Regions from separate parts of the Homo sapiens genome. Here all the other regions are linked to region 4. The links are contacts of gene promoters, found by promoter capture Hi-C in blood cells and fetal thymus (Javierre and others, 2016). All regions are on one chromosome and are shown on one strand. Each heading gives the region's core, a stretch centred on a gene start or on the middle of the fragment in contact. The rest is flanking DNA. Distances are from core to core; before and after follow the strand shown.

Region 1 (3,089 bases), core at 260-2,759, 360 kb after region 4:
CTAAAAAAATTAATAAAATCTGGAAAAAAATTTTTAAAGGTAGGCTTCTATATTGTATTTTCAATATTTCCTATCATTTCCTTGCTAGAAATGGTAATATGAGAAATGGTGATCAAGAGCTTTATAAACATTCATACCCTCTGATCCAGTTAATTCCATTTTCAGGAATTTATCTTAAGGAAATCATCAGAAATGCACATGAATATTTCTATATATGGATATTCATCATAACAGTATTTGTAATACTGAAAAAATGAATATAGAAATGGAATGGATAAATTATGATAAATTATGATAAATGGATAAATTATGATTTCCTGTCTTTGATTTAGTTCATTTTTCTTTATATTTTATTAACTTAGTATATATTTTATTAACTTAGTATATATTTTATTAATTTAGATTGAGTAAAGTCAATCAATTTTATCAACACATTCATTTTTTTGTTTTCTGCTTAATTTTATAAAATAACAATGGCGAAATTCAATAAAATATCAAAATATTTCATAATGACATTGTCAAAAGTGAATTTTTGTTTGTCAAGCAGCATTCATTGACTGGTGATATTCCTAAATGTTTGTTCATCACATGAGATTTAAAAGCTTGAATTTGGCATATCAAAGATAATTTAGGTGTCTTATGTGGGTTTTACCAAATTTAATGCCTGCTTTTGTCTTATTTTAATTTGAATTTCTCTAGTTAGCATTGTAAATAATTTTCTCTATGTTTACTGACCGTGTGTAATTTTTCAATCTTTGCACTTTTTTTTGTATCCTTTGATCATTTTCACTTTATTTGCATATTGGACTAAGCGAAGTCAAAAGTTAAATCTGCATTTCTGTGGAGTTCCTACAGCTAATTTATATCTATGGACAGAATGAAGTAGAGGAAATTCAAAAGTTAGCAGGGGTCAAACAGTGTGGACTCTTGTGACTCAGGGTTTGAGTTGGAAAACTAGCTCTTCCCTTTAGTGACTTTGAGTAAGTTATCTACTGTATTGTCCTTCAGTGTCCTTTATATTGGGGGTATTAAGAGTGCTTACCTCATGGGGTTGTTGTGAGGATTAAATAAGTTAATATAGGTAAAGCGCCTGAAATAGTACCTGCTGTAGAAGGCTCTCTGTAAGAGGAAGTTTTTTTTTTTATATTTTAATTAAATTTTCTGTGGCTGGGCGCAGTGGCTTATGCTTGTAATCCCAGCAGTTTGGGAGGCCAAGTCAGGCGGATCACAAGATCAGGAGTTCGAGACCAGCCTGACCAACATGGTGAAACCCCATCTCTACTAAAAATACAAAAATTAGCCAGGCATGGCTAAAGTTTTTTGTAGGTACATAATAGATGTATATATTTATGGGTTACATGAGATACTTTCATACAGGCATACAATGCATAATAATTACATCAGGGTAAATGGGGTATCCATCTCCTCAAGCATTTATCCTTTGTGTTACAAACAACCCAATTATACTCTTTTAGTTATTTTAAAATGTACAATTAAATGATTTTTGACTGTAGTCATTCTGTTGCACTATCAAATGCTAGGTCTTATTCTTTCTATTTTTTTTGTACCCATTAACCATCCCCAGTTCCCTTCTCAGCCTCTGGTAGCCATCTTTCTACTCTCTATCTCCATGAGTTCAGTTGTTTTAATTTTTAGCTCCCACAAGTAGGTGAGAACATGCAAAGTTTATCTTTCTGTGCCTGGCTTATTTCATGTAAAATAATGACCTCCAGTTCCATCCATGTTGTTGCAAATGACAGGATCTCATTCCTTTTCATGGCAGAATGCTACTCCATTGTATATATGTACTACATTTTCTTTACCCATTTGTCTGCTGACAGACACCTGGGTGCTCGCAAATCTTAGCTCTTGTGAATAGTGCTGTAGTAAACATGGGAGTGCACATATCTCTTCTATATACTGATTTCCCTTCTTTTGAGTATATATCTAGCAGTGGGATTGCTGGATCATGTGGTAGTTCTATTTTTAGTTTTTTGGTAGTTTTTTTTCAAACTACTCTCCATAGTGGTTGTACTAATTTACATTCCCACCAACAGTCTGTGAGGGTTCCCTTTTCTCCACATCCTCACCAGCATTTATTATTGCATGTCTTTGGATAAAAGCCATTTTAACTGAGGTGAGATGGTATCTCATTGTAGTTTTGATTTGGATTTCTGTAATGAACGATGGTGTTGAGAGCTTTTCACATACCAGGCTGCCATTGTATGTCTTCTTTTGAGAAATGTCTATTCAATTTGTCTATTTTTAAATTGGATAATTAGATTTTTCCTGTAGAGTTGTTTGAGCTCCTTATATATTGTGGTTATTAATCCCTTGTCACATGGGTGGTCTACATACATTTTCTTCCATTCCATGGGTTGTCTCTTCACTTTGTTGATTGTTTCTGTTGCTGTGCAGAAGCTTTTTAACTTCATGTGATCCCATTTGTCCATCTTTGCTTTGGTTGCCCTATTAAGAAATCTTTGCCCAGTTCAGTGTTCTGGAGAGTTTCCCCAATGTTTTATTTTAGTCATTTCATAGTGTGACATTTTAGATTTAAGTCTTTAATCCATTTTTGATTTGATTTTTGTATATGGTGAGAGATAGGGTCTAGTTTCATTGTTCTGCATATGGATGTCCAGTTTTCCCAGCACCATTTGTTGAAAAGATTCTTTCCTCAGTGTATGTTCTTGGCACCATTGTCAAAAATGAGTTCACTGTAGATGTATGGATTTATTTCTGGGTTTTCTGTTCTGTTCCAGTGGTCTGTGTGTCTGTTTTTATGCCAGTACCATGCCATTTTGGTTACTATAGCTCTGTAGTATAATTTGAAGTCAGGTAATGTGATACCTCCAATTTTGTCCTTTTTGCTTAGGATATATTTGGCTATTCTGAGTCTTTCGTTGCTCATATACATTTTAGGCTAATTTTTTCCATTTCTGTGAAAAATGTCACTGATATTTTGATAGGGATTGCGTTGAATCTGTAGATTGCTTTGGGTAGTATGGATGTTTGAACTATTCTTCCAATTCATGAACATGTAATATCTTTCCCTTTTTTGTGTGTTCTCTTCAATGTTTTACATCAGT
Region 2 (2,898 bases), core at 208-2,707, 450 kb before region 4:
CAAACTCTCAGCGTAAGAGCCCCAATTAGGGAGCAACACATGGTTTAGAAAGCCCTGGTGGTAAATTTCCTGATGTACTGGATTTCATTTTGGGAATTAGTGTAGTGCAATGGAAAAAATGTGAACTCTGGAGCCAGCCAGACTGGGTTCAAATTCTGGCCTTACCACTTACCAGCTTTATGACCCTGAGCAAGTTACTCTGCCACTTTGCACCTCAGTTTCCTCATCTGATATATGGAGATGATGATAATGGTACCTACCTCACAAAGCTATTGTGGATGAAATCAGTTAATTCATGCAGAGTACTTAGAACAGTGCCTGGAACATGCAAACATTCAAGAAGTCTCAGATGCAACTTTTGTACCAAGACAAAGATCTAATCCATAGGAACAAATAATAAAGAAAATTGAGGCAAATGTCAGGGTGGTTGTGATGGTATTTGGGGGGTGGGTTGGCCTTGACTGAAGTCCTTACCTGGCACGGGCTAATCCTTCTACATGGAAAGCCAACGTTGCCTGGGCACAAGCCCGCTCCTGAGTGGCCAGACTGATGAGGACGGAGGATCCTGCAGATGAAATATTGTTGGATCAGGCACCGGATGGCTCATTCCCTCCATCTTTCTTTTTGGTCTCTCCCTCACTTCTTTTTTGTCCTCCTCTCTCCCCCTCCTCTTTCTTCACGCTAAGCCAGGCCTTTGCCACATCAGCCTCACCAATAGGACCCTCAGGGATTGCGGTCCCATAAGCAAGTCTAACTTGAGTCCTTGGCCCAGTTCCTGGCGCTTCATTTTAGCTTCTCCCATCCCAAGTGGGGCTCTTGTGGCCCATTCTTCTCCTTCTTCCCAAGAGATGGCTCAGCTGCCTGCAGATGAGCCTCCTGGGTCCCAAATAGAAGAGAGTCTTGCTGACTGGGAAGGGGTGGGTGGCTGCTCGGGCTTGCTCTTTCCCTGGCAAAGCCTTTTCTCATACACACATTTTGCTCAGGGCAGTTTTTGGAACACAGACATGCCAAGCCGACCTCACCTCTTGTTAACTGGGACTGAGGAGTCAAGTCCGTTTTGGTCTTAATTAAAAGAACATGAGGATCAGGGTCAACTGTGCAGAAGAATCAGGAGCAAAGTAAAGAGATTAAAGCCATGCTTTGTTCTCATCAGAAAGTTTGATGTTTTGAGAATATTGAGTTGTTATTGAGTCCTCCGCAGTATCTCTCAGGAGGAGAACAAAATTGGCCCATAGAAGGCAAACTGACTGATCCCACCCCTTTCACAAATTCTTCTTAGCAACTTGTTTTCATGAAATTGAGAAGCAGTATGATGTTGTATAAAGAGCAGCGACTCTCATTCTTCACTTTAATAATTTTTGTGGACCTCTGAAAATGCGAGCTTCGCTACTCTCCCATAGCCCTACTTTGGTATCCACATTTCAACCAGATTAGTTTCCTGGGGCTGCTGCAACAAAGTATGACTGACTGGGTGACTTAGAACAACAGAAATGTAAGGTCTCACAGTTCTGGAGACTGGAAGTCCAGGACCAAGGTGTCGGGAGGACCGTGCTGCCTCTGAAGGTGCTAGGGAAGGATCTGTTCCAGGGCTCTCTCTGGGATTCAGGTAGTTCCTTGGCCCTTGGCAGCATAACTCCAATCTCCACGTGGTGTGCCCCTCATATGCCTGTCTGTGGCCAAATTTCTCCTTTCCATAAGGACACCAGTCATATTGAATTAGGGGCCCACCCTACTCTAGTGTGACTCCATCTTAGCTAACTACATCTGCAACCCTCTTTCCAAATAAGGTCATATGCTGAGATACTGAAAGTTGGGACTTCAACATATGAATTTTGGGAGGATACAATTCAACCCTTAACAGCTAGAGCTATGCCCCACAGACCGGATTCCACAAAACCATTGCAATCTGCTTTGCACCACCCACTCCACAGCTTGACAGTCAAGTGCTCAGAGGCTGCATGTTTGATTGAAGCACGCTGATGCTGGTTCTCCATGTCCTGGAAACGAGGCTGGAGACAGGGCCAGGGGCTAAATCATACAGAGCCCTGAAGGCCATGGGCGTTGTGTACTTTATCCTAAGAGCAGTGGGCTGTCTTTGATGCTTACAAACAGAAGGCTGATCAGACTCTAGAAAGAGCCTTCCAACTTTAGTGTTGAGAATGGAATAAAGTTGGGGCAAGGCAATTCTTCAAGCAAGTGACAAGCTGGCCTGAACCTCAATGGTGGCAATGGGAATGCGGGGAAGATGACTTGGAGAAATAGCTGTGATGTATCAGGGTGCCTAGAGAAAAACAACCTAAAGTGTGTGTTATTTTAGCAAAGGCACTGCCATTTGGGGACCGTTGGCAAAAGGAACTTGTCATTTGGGTTTCTGGATATGGACACTTTAATGTTGGCACAGATTCCCTTGTTTTCAAGGAAGTTACCAAGATAAACCCTCTAGTCAAGCCAAAGTAAAGCAAGTTGATTTGGGGAAGATGTCATACCTGAGTGTGGCAACTGCAGAGTGTGATGTTAAATGTTGAAGAACTGGTGAAAAGTTTTCCTGAAGTGACTACTTAGACTGAATTATTCGTATCCCCCATGTATTAGGTGCCTATTTGCTGCTGCAACAAACTACCACAAACTTAGTGGCTTAAATCAACACAAATGTATTATTTCCCAGCACTGTAGGTCAGAAGTCTGACTTGGTTCTTGCAAGACCACAGTCAAGGTGTCAGCAGGGATGCAGTCCTTTCTGGAGCTGTAAGACTCTTTCCTCTGTTCTAAGGCCACCCACATTCCTTGGCTCATGGCTCCTCTCCGTCTTCAATGCCAGCAGCACATTATGTCTCTGGCTCTGCTTCCACTGTCTTTTTCTAACTCTGTCTTCTGCTTTCTACTTTTTTTTTTTTAACG
Region 3 (3,242 bases), core at 710-3,209, 380 kb before region 4:
CGATTATTTAATGAGTTTTAAAGCCCTGCCCCTCCATGCTGGTGAGGATGAGGGAGAGGGTGGCGGAGATTTCCCCACCATGGCACTGACTTCACGGTGTTGTCACTAATTCTTCATTGTCTGCTCTTTTGCCTAATTGTGAATTCAGCCAGGAACAACAGCCCAAATTTTCCAGGTGCTGTCATTGGAGAAAAGTCTCTCCATACAATGTGGACTGCTCTTAACTAACCCTCTTATTCACCTGAGGGCAGTCCCTGCGAGTCCAGACAGAGCACTTTGGAGGAATGATGGAGAGGTTTAAGCTCATCACATCACAATCTATGTGAACCAACTAGAATATCACAATCTCTGAGAAGCTCCTGGGGTGCCCATACATGAATTAAAGCTTCTCCCCTGTAGAAAGGGGGCAGCTCTCAGGTCCATGAGGTCTGGCCACTGGCATGTGACTTTGATGTGTTAAGCCTGTCCCTTGGAACAGCTTGTTCTGTAGCTTATTTTGACTTGTCACAGACTAATCCCCTCCCTTTAGATCCCATCTCTGAATTCACAGCCATTCCGGGGATTCAGTGGTCTCTGCTCATCCCACCACCACGGAACTTCAAGCCAGGCCATCTCAGGCCTGTGTGGGTCCTGAGTGGTTTGGAATCTCTTCAAATCAATGAAAGATTTATTCAACATCTATTTAGAGAAGAAGACTAATGAGCAGCTCTGTGTGGCAGACTGGTGAATATGGAGGCTTCCTGGTGGTGGCATTCTGCCTCTCATCTATGGGTGTAAGCAGTTCAGCTCTGGCCTCAGCTTGCATCCTCTGCTCGGGCAATAAGCCCTTCGTGTAAGTTTTACTTGAAAAAGCCCCTTAACTATCTCAACATCTCCCCTTTAATTACCCTCCAGCAGCTGATGAAGTGATTGTTCCATTTCTCTTCCTGAAAAAGAGCTATGGGAAATACTATTTTCTCCATCCCATTCCATTTCCAGGAATCTTTTAACATATTTTATAGATTGCTGCCATGCCCCTAACCCAGATCTCACCTCAGACAGCTTAGCTTCGCTACTGCTCCCTCGGCCTGGCTGCACAGCCCTGCCCCACCAGCGCCAGCCAGAGCTAATGCCTCTTCTGTTTCTCCTACTCCCAGCCCAGCCTGGGAGCCTAGACTTGCGATTGTCTTCCTTCCATCATGTACTACCTTGGCAGATGGGTGGGAAAACTGAGCAGGAAAAAATCACCTGTATATTATGCCTCCTGGCCTCCAAAGAAGCAAATTAGGGTTTTAAAATAGGTCAAACTGGGCTTGAGGAGGAGTGGGAAGACTGCCAATTACAATCTCTCAACTCAAGGTTGCTTGTTAAAAAAAAAACAAAAAAACTAAACAAAACTGGAACTGTTTCCATTTTTAAACAAAGTGAACTTTTGATGTTAATTCTGACCTTAAAAAAAAGGAAAAAGAGAAAGAAAAGAGATGTCTTTCTCCTCATGATTTCAATTTCAAGAGTTGTGTGAAATCAAGCCCTCAATAGTGCTAGGGTGTAGGGTGGAGGCATTTTCTGATTCACATCAGCCCCCAGCTGCTTGAGGATTGTGAAACCCTGCCTGAGTTTCCACAGCACACCAAATCCACAGCCTTCTCTGGCTCTCCCTTCAAGCTCTCCCCAGCTCTATCTACGTAGTCTCAGTAATTTGGGGTGGAAGTTATTTAGCAGTTTCCTTACAATTAAATGATTACATTGTTCATATTTCCACACCTGCAAATACCCGAGAGAGTCCCAATCTATTTCAATTATCCCACTTATTAGCATTTCCAGCTTTTCCCATTTGCTAATAAGAACCGGAGCTCTGGGTTGAGGTAATCCCTTCAGAAGTTAAATCATTTTGTGTATTCAGTAACCAGTCTGGGATTATGACCACACTCCACTGACATAACAGAAACATAAAGATGATGAATAGAAGTTGCATGCTTTGCAACTGCAGAAAATAATTTTGGCTTATCCGTCTCTCCAAACAGACTATATATAATTTTTAATATCTGAATTTTAAAGGCAAAGACCAAGATGGTTGAGGATTTGTTAATGACAACATATTTAGTATAAATACTGCTCTATGAATCACTATACTGGTAGGAGCAGGAAGAAGTGGGGAGATGGATAAGAGAAAACTGGAGAGTAGGTGGGAGAAAAAGAGGAATGTGTGGGCTGTTTGAGAATGTTTCAGGCAAGCACCTGGGATAAGGTGCGTCTCAAACCCATGCTGATTCTTCATCATGGTGAGTAGGGTGCTAGCATTTCCCCCTTGTCCACCCCCTTCCCTGCCCCACCCACCACCACACGGAGATGTCAGACTTCCATTGAGGCAGGGGTGTGCTATGTCTTCTGGTTCTTCCAGGAGCCCATGAAATTATATACCTTTCAACACTAGTGCTGCAGGGATATGCACCCAGCAAAGAGGGAAGGCGGGAGTAGTGACTCATTCATGATGAAATTTTTACAAGTCTAAAGTGAAGTGAGACAAACAAGAATAATTATTTATATGTGGATAGATAGATAGATGGATAGATGGATGAAAGGATAGGTAGATGGATGGATGGACAGGGAGAGACAGAGAGAGAGAATGAAATTGCTAACACATTTTGGGAAAAAAACAATTGAGGTTATGCTTTTTTCTTTTTCTTAACTCTTTTTTTTTGTTTGTTTGTTTTTTTGAGACAGAGTCTCGTTCCATCGCCCAGGCTGGAGTGCAGTAGCACAATCTTGGCTCACTGCAACCTCCACCTCCCAGGTTCAACTGATTCTCCTGCCTCAGCCTCCTGTAGATGGGATTACAGGGGCATGCCACAATGCCGGGCTAATTTTTGTATTTTTAGTAGAGACGGGATTTCACCATATTGGCCAGGCTGGTCTCAAACTCCTGACCTCATGATCCTCCCGCCTCAGCCTCCCAAAGCCAGATTATGTTTTGATCACTTACTTGGGGTCAACAAGTTCAGCTATGATAAAGATATGACAGAGGGGCTTTTGGTTTTTGTTTTTAGTTAATCTGTCATTTGGCAAAATTAAAAGTTGACTCCCTATGTAGGTCCCCTCTTGACTTGTTTTTTGTTGTTGTTGTTTTTGAGATAGAGTTTCACTCTATCCCCCAGGCTAGAGTGTAGGGTGTGATCTCGGCTCACTGCAACCTCTGCCTCCCAGGTTCAACTGATTCTCAGGTCTCATCCTCCTGAATAGTTGAGATTACAAGCATGCGCCAC
Region 4 (3,086 bases), core at 65-2,564:
CTATAACCCACTAGAGAATTTACCTGTTTCAAATGCTTTTTATTTTTTAATTTTTAATTTCTTTTTTTGAGGCAGTGTCTTGTTCTGTCACCCAGGCTGGAGTGCACTGGCACGATCTCAGCTCACTGCAACCTCCTCCTCCTGGGTTCAAGCAAGTCTCATGCCTCAGCCTTCTGAGTAGCTGGGATTACAGGTGTGTGCTGCCATGCCCAGCTAATTTTTGCATTTTTAGTAGAGATGGGGTTTTGTCATGTTGCCCAGGCTGATCCTGAACTCCTGGCCTCAAGTGATCTGCCCGCCTTAGCCTCCCAAAGTGCTGGGATTACAGGCATGAGCCACTGCACCTGGCCAATTTTTTAATTTTTTGTGATAGATCTTGCTGTGTTGCCCAAACTGGAGTGCACTAAGTAGCACAGTCATGGCTCACTGCAGCCTCAACCTCCCAGGCTCAAGTGATCCTCTCGCCTCAGCCTCCCAAGTAGCTGGGACCACAGGCACACACTACCATGCCCTTCTAATCAAACACTTTAGAAATATAACTATGTCATTTTAACAAGTTACTGTGTAGAGTGTGGAAATCTTAGGGGATCAATAAAAGAGCCAAAAAAAAAATCCCCAAATAAGTTACTGTGAAAAGTAATAGTCAAAGTTTTCTATCACCTGATGTAAATGATTTGTGAGTAAGCTTGCCAAGCCTGTCTTAAAGGATGCCTATATTCAAAGCCAAGAAAAGTCCCAGTTTGTAATTGTGTTGCTATTATAACCATTCAGATAGTCCCTTCTTGGAGCAGTAGAATATTTTTGAATGGAGGGACTCCTGACATTACTTTCCTAAAATCACAAAAGGCTGTCACTCTCAGGGTTTTGTTTTGTGTGGATAACTTTCTCTTACAGTCACATCTCTCCTAGAATGGGAGCAATAGAGCCTCTAGGTGCTATGAAAGGATGGGGACCTCACCAGAGAGGACTGGTCTCAGCAATGTCCTTAAGTGGTCAAAACATGCTGCGGTTGAGGTCAGGATTGTGAGGGGATAGAGGTGACGTAGAGAAGTAACTGAGTGCATTTAGACTGAGATGAATAGCAACCTAGAAATTAAGGAGGGGAAGAGCTATTGTAGAGCTCTTTCTGGCATGAGGAGTAGGGATAGCTCAAGGTTGGTTTTGATGCAGGAGTCACTGGGCAGGAATTTAAGAGGCTTCCATTGTGACACAAAGGAGACAGACACTATGGATAGGCCACAATGGTGCAGTGACAAAATAAAGACCTGGTTGCTAGGGCCAGAGAATAAACACCGGGTGCCTAGAGGAGAAGAGATGGAGCCCCAGCCTTGGTCCCCTTTCCCACCCTTCCTCCCCACAAGGCTGTCTGAGATGCCACCTTCCACCTAAACATCATCTCCCAAATTTTAATCCTTAACTTTGGTCTCTGACTTCTGCTTGATTCCACAGTCTCCACCCACATTTGCACAAAGGACCATCACCTGTCCTTCCTGGAATCTCTAAAGTTTTCTGCTTTCCTTCTGTCCTGATGGCCAGCTCTGCTAAGTCAGCTGAGATGCCCACCATCTCCAAAACCGTTAACCCTACTCCTGATCCTCATCAAGAATATCTGGACCCTAGGATTACCATTGCCTTATTCGAAATTGGATCACATTCCCCTTCCTCCTGGGGCTCTCTCCCTTTCCTAAAGAATAGCAGCCATCAAGTTACAGAACAACAGACTGCACAGAAGTTTAACAATCTCTTAAAAGAAATTAAAGATATTCTTAAAAATATGGCAGGTTTTGAAGAGAAGATCACAGAAGCAAAAGAACTTTTTGAGGAAACCAATATTACTGAGGATGTGTCAGCCCACAAAGAAAATATCAGAGGACTTGACAAAATCAATGAAATGTTATCAACAAACCTGCCTGTTAGTTTAGCCCCAGAGAAAGAAGACAATGAAAAGAAACAGGAGATGATATTGGAAACCAATATTACTGAGGATGTGTCAGCCCACAAAGAAAATATCAGAGGACTTGACAAAATCAATGAAATGTTATCAACAAACCTGCCTGTTAGTTTAGCCCCAGAGAAAGAAGACAATGAAAAGAAACAGCAGATGATAATGGAAAACCAGAACTCTGAGAACACCGCACAAGTTTTTGCAAGAGATTTGGTAAATCGTTTAGAAGAAAAAAAAGTCCTTAACGAAACTCAACAAAGTCAGGAAAAAGCAAAAAACAGACTTAATGTTCAAGAAGAAACTATGAAAATTAGGAACAACATGGAGCAGTTACTACAGGAAGCAGAACACTGGAGTAAACAACATACTGAGCTCAGTAAACTGATAAAATCCTATCAGAAATCTCAGAAAGACATAAGTGAAACTCTTGGAAATAATGGAGTCGGTTTCCAAACCCAGCCAAATAATGAAGTGTCGGCTAAGCATGAGCTGGAGGAACAGGTGAAGAAACTGAGCCATGACACCTATTCATTGCAGTTGATGGCAGCTTTGCTAGAGAATGAATGCCAAATCTTACAGCAGAGAGTAGAGATTCTCAAGGAACTCCATCATCAGAAACAGGGAACTCTGCAAGAGAAGCCAATTCAGATAAACTATAAACAGGACAAGAAAAATCAGAAGCCATCAGAAGCAAAGAAAGTAGAAATGTATAAGCAGAACAAGCAAGCAATGAAGGGTACATTTTGGAAAAAAGACAGATCCTGTAGAAGCCTGGATGTTTGTCTTAATAAGAAAGCTTGCAATACCCAGTTCAATATTCATGTTGCAAGAAAAGCTCTTAGGGGAAAAATGAGGTCAGCTAGCAGCCTAAGATAGAAAATACCAAAAGCAGATGAAAAGGTGAATCCTTAAAAAACTACATCTGTTACCTCCAACTTGTCAGTCATGATCAATCATCAAACCTTGGGCAGATCTGCTGGTTCAACCAAGAAAGAGCTATAGAATAAGGAGATTGACACTTATATTACTCATTACTTCAGCAGTTATGTAAGTCTGGTCTTTAATGACCATTGTGTCTACATCAAGTTCATAACTTTTCACCTTTACAATCTGCTTGTTTTTTTTGTAATTATTAGATAGA
Region 5 (3,224 bases), core at 449-2,948, 280 kb before region 4:
GCAGATAGCTCACAAATCTCCAAGTCGCTAGCTGTAAATTGAGTGATAATTGGTGTCAGGTTATTTTAGCACAGTTTGGGGATAAAATGGTGCATTAATCTCCCAGTTTGTGGCTTATTAAACTTTGAAATGGAATTATTTGAGACATAAAAGAGATAGCAATACTTTGCTGGATGTTCTCCATTAGTCGAGATTGTTACAGAGGAGAAATTTTTGCCACTGTTTATCAAATATTTTTTCCTCTAGTTAATCCATATCATTCCGGGAGCTTTGCCCAGGAAAAGGACGAATTACTTGCGTTCCTCCGATCTCTTTCAAGTTCTACTCCCGTACCTTTAAACTGTCACACGGAATCTTTGGTGACAGAGGAATAGAGGTGGGCAAGCAGGGCGTTTGGAAACCATACTGAAAACGAATTATCCATAAAGCACAGATTCACCAGCCTAGAAATGGCTCTGTCTGGATGGATTCCTTGAGATGTGTTTTATCTCCATTAAAAACACAACAACTTTCAAACTTTCACTGTGTCTCAAAATGATAGAGAAAAAAATTCAGCCTTTCAAGTATTCAAGAAAAGCTTGAAGAAATAAAAGAAACTCGCTGCTCTCTGGGCCACTTTAGGAGGCAGAGCGTTCCTGGAGAACTTCAGGATTCATTCGCAAGGGAACCCAAGGTGGGCATTCAAAGCCGATCCAAAGGATATTCTTCTTTTTAGAAAACAAAAGGAGCGCAAGGAGTAGGGGACTGAAGGTGCCCAAAGCTAGTGGGTCAGTGTCACTTTCTTCCTCCCTTTCGCCCCTTTCCTCCCGCTCCTTTCTCCCCTGTGGTCTCTGCTCAGCACCCCTTTCTCTCCAGCCCCGACTGCCCATCTTCGCCCCTACCCTCGCGCGTCGGGGCCGTGTCTACACCCACCCCAGGACCTGGTCCGTCCAGGCTCCTTCCCATCCTCACACCCGCGCCTTTCTCCCTGCGGCCCCGGCTCGCTGCTCCAGCTGCCCAGCTCTTCCCAGGACAGGGGATCCCGCCAAGGGGGCCGCCCCCGCCCCGGCCCTCCCCCGCCCGGCCGCACCATAAAGCGCCCGGCCGCTGCCGCGGAGCCCAGCAGCCAGCTCCCCAGCACCGCACGGCGGGGACGCGAGCGCGCCCCCGACGGCAGCCCGGACGCCGAGCACGGGTCACCTGCGGCGCCGGCCCGGGCGCCGACCGAGGTTCAACGCACGGCCCGGGGACCCCCAGGCGGGGCCAACGCCGCCGTCGCCCCCGGCCTCGCGGGGAGCAGGAAGAGCCAACATGCTGGCCCCGCGCGGAGCCGCCGTCCTCCTGCTGCACCTGGTCCTGCAGCGGTGGCTAGCGGCAGGCGCCCAGGCCACCCCCCAGGGTAAGTGGGTTCGGGTCGGGCCTGGGAGCGCCGGGCACCGGGTGCCCCATCTGCTGAGTGAGTGGAGGGACTTGCTCGGCCCTGTGCTCCTGTGGCCTTGCTCAGCCCCTCTCTGTCCCTCCCGGGCCCAATCAAAGCATATTGTGATTGGAGGTAGTGATTAGTCTAGAATTTTCCGAAATTCGATTATCCAATGATGAGAACAATTGCCTAAATAGTTGGGGGATGCAAAATTGTTTCAGACTATGCAAAGATGTGGGGTGGGGTTGCCTTCAAAACTTGCTACACGGTCCTAGACCTCTTAACATGTTAGGCTCTGGTGTAGGGTGAATTCCGGGTCCTGCACCCTGTGCCGGTTCCCTCCAGGCAGCCTTGCTCCCTAAATCCTTCCTCAGGCGGAGCGATGTATGCCCAGAGTCTGCTCTTGACATCCCTGAGAAAGACGCAGAATTACTCTACTTGCCCTGCCACCTGCATTTTCTGCTCTGACTTTGCTTGAACGACAAAAAGAAAGTTTATTTCAAGGATTGGCTTGATGTCTTAATTTCTGAGGTAAATAGGAAGGGCTGAGAAACTGGTCTTTTTCAATGAAATCAGTTCTTTGCAGCAAGATGGATGCAGCTGGAGGCCATTTTCCTAAGTGGATTAAGGCAGGAACAGAAAAGCAAATACCATGTTCTCACAAGCGGGAGCTAAGCAGTGGATAGATATGGACATAAAGATGGAAACAGTAGACACTGGGGACTCCAAAAGTAGGGGGGAAGGTTGGGAAAACTACCAATTGGGTACTACGTTCACTGGGTGATGTGTTCACTAGAAGCTCAAATCCCACCTTATGCAATGCACCCATGTAACAAACTTGCACATGTACCCTCTGAATCTATAATTTAAAAAGAAAAAAGAAAGAAATTGATCTTTTTCTATGAAACGGTAAAAATTCAACAAATAATGTGAAAAGATACTTGGACAATCCTCAAACCCCTTGGTGAAATGGGGTGAAATAGCCATTGGGTAGAAAGCAGTTAAACAGAATTTTTTGTAAAGACCAAAAGGAAGACATGATTTAAGCAAAGAAAGATCTTAGGGCTATAACTGGCCCTAACTGGTCAGGCGTGAGCTTCATCTGTTTGAACTTGGTGCCTGGGTTGATTTATTACTGACTGTGGAAGTAAAACTGGAAGAGACGCACAACTTGAAGTAAAAGTTGTTTTTCCTCTTGTAGCCAGAGCAAAGACTGCCTATGAGGGCGTTCTCAACTTCCCTGCCTCTCGCTGCTGGAATCACCCATTTAAACTGCATTTCGCCAAATAACTCATTTTCATTCCAGACCAGACAACCAGAACTGTGGTTTCAGGGGTTAGAGTACTGCTAACTTTTAGTTTGTGTTGAAGTATTTGAAATGCTGTAGTCCGTGCCCCATACTTCTAGGAAGGTAAAAAAGGAAGCTTTTAAACACTTCAAAAGTCTTATTGTGATGATATTTGGCAAGTTCAAATTTATAGGTATAATTTTTTTGTGTTATATACGTTCTTGACTTTTGAACATACAGCTTTATGGTGTGCCTTAGGTATGTCTCAGACATACCTGACCATTTTATGGAGATTTGAACTCGGCCTATACAACCTAAATTATCTGGGTAATTTAGTTGCTGTAGATGATCTGATTAAGTTAAGTTTCTGATAGATTCTTTTATTGCATTATCTAGTCTGCAATTATCAGGCTTAACAGGATAATTTGATTATCTCCTTCTTCCCCTGAGCTTCATTGTTGGTCTTAAATTAGTATATATTCAATTTACATACCATGGTAGCTGCGCTCATTGGTAGCAGTAATTTCACCTCTAACA
Region 6 (3,031 bases), core at 237-2,736, 260 kb before region 4:
TATCATTTATTCATTCTCATATCCCAAAGAAGTCAGAGGCTTTGCTAGACCCTTGAGCCAAGACAACCAAAAAATAATACTGTTTAAAATTGGGGTTAACACCTTATTTATTATTATCTAAATTCCATAAACAAATTACAGACAATTCTTAAGAGGCTCCTGCCACAAAATAACTCCTTTACCATGTAGGAAAAGAGCCTTTCGTTTTCTCAGCTGTCTTGGTGACAATGCCAGCATTTTCCTAGGCTACTGGCTACTTACATATTCACTTTAGTCAAAAAGATAGGGCTGGCAGGCTTTAGGAAAAAATGTGATCCTACAAAATTATGTAAGATGTCAGAGGGTCCAAGTATACAGGACTACTTGATTATGAAAATTGCGTGAGTAGGCAAGCACATTGGCTTTTGAACAGTGTCAGCAATCTGTGGTATGAATGTGATTTCTTCCAGGACTTCTTGGAAGAGCTGAAGCTGGTGGTGAGAGGCTCACTGTTCCAGGTGGCCAGCCTGCAAGACTGCTTCCTGCAGCAGAGTGAGCCACTGGCTGCCACAGGCACAGGTGTGGGCTCTTGGGCAGTTTGCATGCCTTCATCAACACAAACTCCAAAGACCCTGAATAGGCTGGGTCCCATCACCGAAAAGTGGGACTGTCAACAGAGCAGCCCAACAAAACGTATCTATGAAAATCAGTCTCTTGAACAAAATCCAGGGCACAGAATATTTTCATTATGCTTTTATTTTTATGATTCACATGGAATTTAGACTTAGTCAGTGGCATCATTATCATTATTTTTTTTAGCTGAATTAAAGAAATTACCCCAAATTAAATTCAAAGATTCTGGGTTTTTGAATCATCTTGTCAGGATGATTTCCTGGGGAATAATTTGGTTTTGAGTCACTTAGAAATGACCATCACTGGCTGAAAACTCTTTGCCTTTTGCTGTTCCTACAGGGGACTTTAACCGGCAGTTCTTGGGTCAAATGACACAATTAAACCAACTCCTGGGAGAGGTGAAGGACCTTCTGAGACAGCAGGTAACAAGCGGGACATATCATCAGAAAAGCCCTCGTCTTCTTAGAGCAGCTCCCCACAAGCTAGTGGAGCTGCAGGCCTGCCCAGGCACGGGGGCAGCCTCTGAGCCAGATCTCCGGGGGCCCACGCAGCCCCGCACGCCAGGGCTCTGCTGGAAGTTCTCTGGAAATGGGGTCCAAGCTCGTGATGAACACACCATGGCTCTAAGCAGAGCGGGAGCCATCAAGGGCTGCTAACGCTACTGTAAGAAGTGTTACAGAGAGCCAGGTGCGGTGCCTCATGACTGTAATCCCAGCACTTTGGGAGGCTGAGGTGGGCAGATCACGAGGTGAGGAGCTCGAGACCAGCCTGAACAACATGGTGAAACCCCGTCTCTACTAAAAATACAAAAATTAGCCAGGCATGGTGGTGCATGCCTATAATCCCAGCTACTCAGGAGGCTGAGGCAGGAGAATTGCTGGAACCCAGGAGGCGGAGGTTGTAGTGAGCTGAGATCGTGCCACTGCACTCCAGCCTGGGCGACAGACTGAGACTGTCTCAAAAAAAAAAAAAAAAAAAGTGTTACATAGATAGCTCCACATGGATTCTTTCATTCCTGGATGATATCAGGCATTCCTTTTCAATCCTTTTTTCCCCTTCTCATTTTTAAAGGTTAAGGAAACATCATTTTTGCGAAACACCATAGCTGAATGCCAGGCTTGCGGTAAGTGCTTTTCTAGTAATGGGCTCGCCTGAGTTGGATGATGCAGGCTGATGAAGGGCTTGCGGTGAGGCTGTGTTGACCGCAGTTTCTGAAGGTCTACCACATAGTTGGAGGGGAGGGAGGAAAAGTTCAATAGGAAACCAAATTTTGTTTTGCCTTCTGTATATCTTCCTGGCGGTGAATACGCCTGTGGATGATTGTTTTTCTCTAGGTCCTCTCAAGTTTCAGTCTCCGACCCCAAGCACGGTGGTGCCCCCGGCTCCCCCTGCACCGCCAACACGCCCACCTCGTCGGTGTGACTCCAACCCATGTTTCCGAGGTGTCCAATGTACCGACAGTAGAGATGGCTTCCAGTGTGGGCCCTGCCCCGAGGGCTACACAGGAAACGGGATCACCTGTATTGATGTTGATGAGGTAAAAGTTCACTTAGACTGGGAGGGGATCCCTAAGTATCCTCCTCACCCTGCAGCTTTTGGAAAAAGAAGCCAAGCTGATGATTAAGGGCTGACTTGGGCTGTCCTCCAGGCTCCATTGAAACCACTTGCTTGGAGACCCTGAGACAAGGGATGGCGGAAGGAGACATGACCCAAGGTTATGGCTGCGTTTGTCATTTTTCCTCTGTGTTTCCAACTCTTCTACTGGTCCATTGGCTACAGTGCTGAGGTTTCTGCTTTACACGCTGACATTTGCATTGGTTATTTCTCTTAAATAGTCTGTGCTACAATTTTGTTTTTCCCCCACTTTTGCAAATGTGGAAGGGGAGGATTTTTCTAAGGGTATATTTCAGGAGTCACCGTGGATTTCTTCAGGCTTCCTAAAATAAAGGAGCAGAGGGGAATCTCACACCAACAAGGGGGAGGCCCTGTAACCTATGAGTAACTAAACGTGCCCAGGGAGGGCCCCAGAGGAGGCACATCCAGCAAATACCAGCTATTTGACCGGCTGGCAGAGCCCCAGAAGAGACTGTTTCAAGACCCTGGTTAGGCAGGCCAGCCTAGTGGCTGAAGCCTGCAATCTCAACACTTTGGGAGGCTGAGGCAGGAGGATCACATGAGCCCAGGAGTTTGAGACCAGCCCGGGCAACAAGACAAAACCCTATCTCTACAAAAAATATGATAATTACTGGGGCATGGTGGCATGTGCCTGTGGTCCCAGCTACTCTGGAAGATGAAGCAGGAGGATTGCCTGAGGCAGGAGGTTGAGGCTGCAGTGAGCCATGATGGCACCACTGCACTCTAGCCTGGGCACAACCCTGTCTCAAAAAAACAAACAAAAAAAAACATGGTTAGGCAATCA

The links. The method cuts DNA at HindIII sites, captures the fragments that hold promoters and counts their contacts. A CHiCAGO score of 5 or more calls a contact.
Region 1: a fragment that was not itself captured here is called in contact with the fragment with the promoter of SPZ1 in region 4 in 1 of 17 cell types (neutrophils); the score reaches 5.3 in neutrophils.
Region 2: a fragment that was not itself captured here is called in contact with the fragment with the promoter of SPZ1 in region 4 in 1 of 17 cell types (activated CD4 T cells); the score reaches 5.0 in activated CD4 T cells.
Region 3: a contact is called between the fragment with the promoter of LINC01455 here and the fragment with the promoter of SPZ1 in region 4, in 11 of 17 cell types (naive CD4 T cells, endothelial precursors, activated CD4 T cells and 8 more). The highest score is 11.0, in naive CD4 T cells.
Region 5: a fragment that was not itself captured here is called in contact with the fragment with the promoter of SPZ1 in region 4 in 7 of 17 cell types (neutrophils, non-activated CD4 T cells, monocytes and 4 more); the score reaches 6.8 in neutrophils.
Region 6: a contact is called between a fragment that was not itself captured here and the fragment with the promoter of SPZ1 in region 4, in 10 of 17 cell types (neutrophils, non-activated CD4 T cells, activated CD4 T cells and 7 more). The highest score is 13.3, in neutrophils.

What each region holds. Positions count from the first base shown.
Region 1 is chr5:80,681,273-80,684,361 of GRCh38, forward strand. The region is part of intron 8 of MSH3 (mutS homolog 3); the gene reads left to right. Among named protein-coding and RNA genes, the nearest start is that of DHFR, 28 kb to the left of the region's middle. The HindIII fragment of the contact is 1,819 bases long and covers 601-2,419 here.
Region 2 is chr5:79,866,539-79,869,436 of GRCh38, forward strand. All of the region lies in intron 1 of LOC105379048 (a long non-coding RNA gene), which reads left to right. Among named protein-coding and RNA genes, the nearest start is that of LINC01455, 69 kb to the right of the region's middle. The HindIII fragment of the contact is 3,615 bases long and covers 1-2,898 here.
Region 3 is chr5:79,934,620-79,937,861 of GRCh38, forward strand. It overlaps LINC01455 (long intergenic non-protein coding RNA 1455), which reads left to right and starts at 1,960. Exons shown (of 3, transcript NR_131226.1): 1 at 1,960-2,261. The region is part of intron 2 of LOC105379048 (a long non-coding RNA gene); the gene reads left to right. The HindIII fragment of the contact is 4,387 bases long and covers 384-3,242 here.
Region 4 is chr5:80,318,688-80,321,773 of GRCh38, forward strand. SPZ1 (spermatogenic leucine zipper 1) reads left to right here and starts at 1,315. Exons shown (of 1, transcript NM_032567.4): 1 at 1,315-3,086. The coding sequence starts at 1,529. The coding sequence ends at 2,821. The HindIII fragment of the contact is 2,056 bases long and covers 684-2,739 here.
Region 5 is chr5:80,034,248-80,037,471 of GRCh38, forward strand. THBS4 (thrombospondin 4) reads left to right here and starts at 1,101. Exons shown (of 22, transcript NM_003248.6): 1 at 1,101-1,378. The coding sequence starts at 1,291. The HindIII fragment of the contact is 2,246 bases long and covers 576-2,821 here.
Region 6 is chr5:80,057,757-80,060,787 of GRCh38, forward strand. It overlaps THBS4 (thrombospondin 4), which reads left to right. Exons shown (of 22, transcript NM_003248.6): 4 at 450-558; 5 at 952-1,034; 6 at 1,684-1,735; 7 at 1,947-2,149. Among named protein-coding and RNA genes, the nearest start is that of THBS4, 24 kb to the left of the region's middle. The HindIII fragment of the contact is 5,569 bases long and covers 1-3,031 here.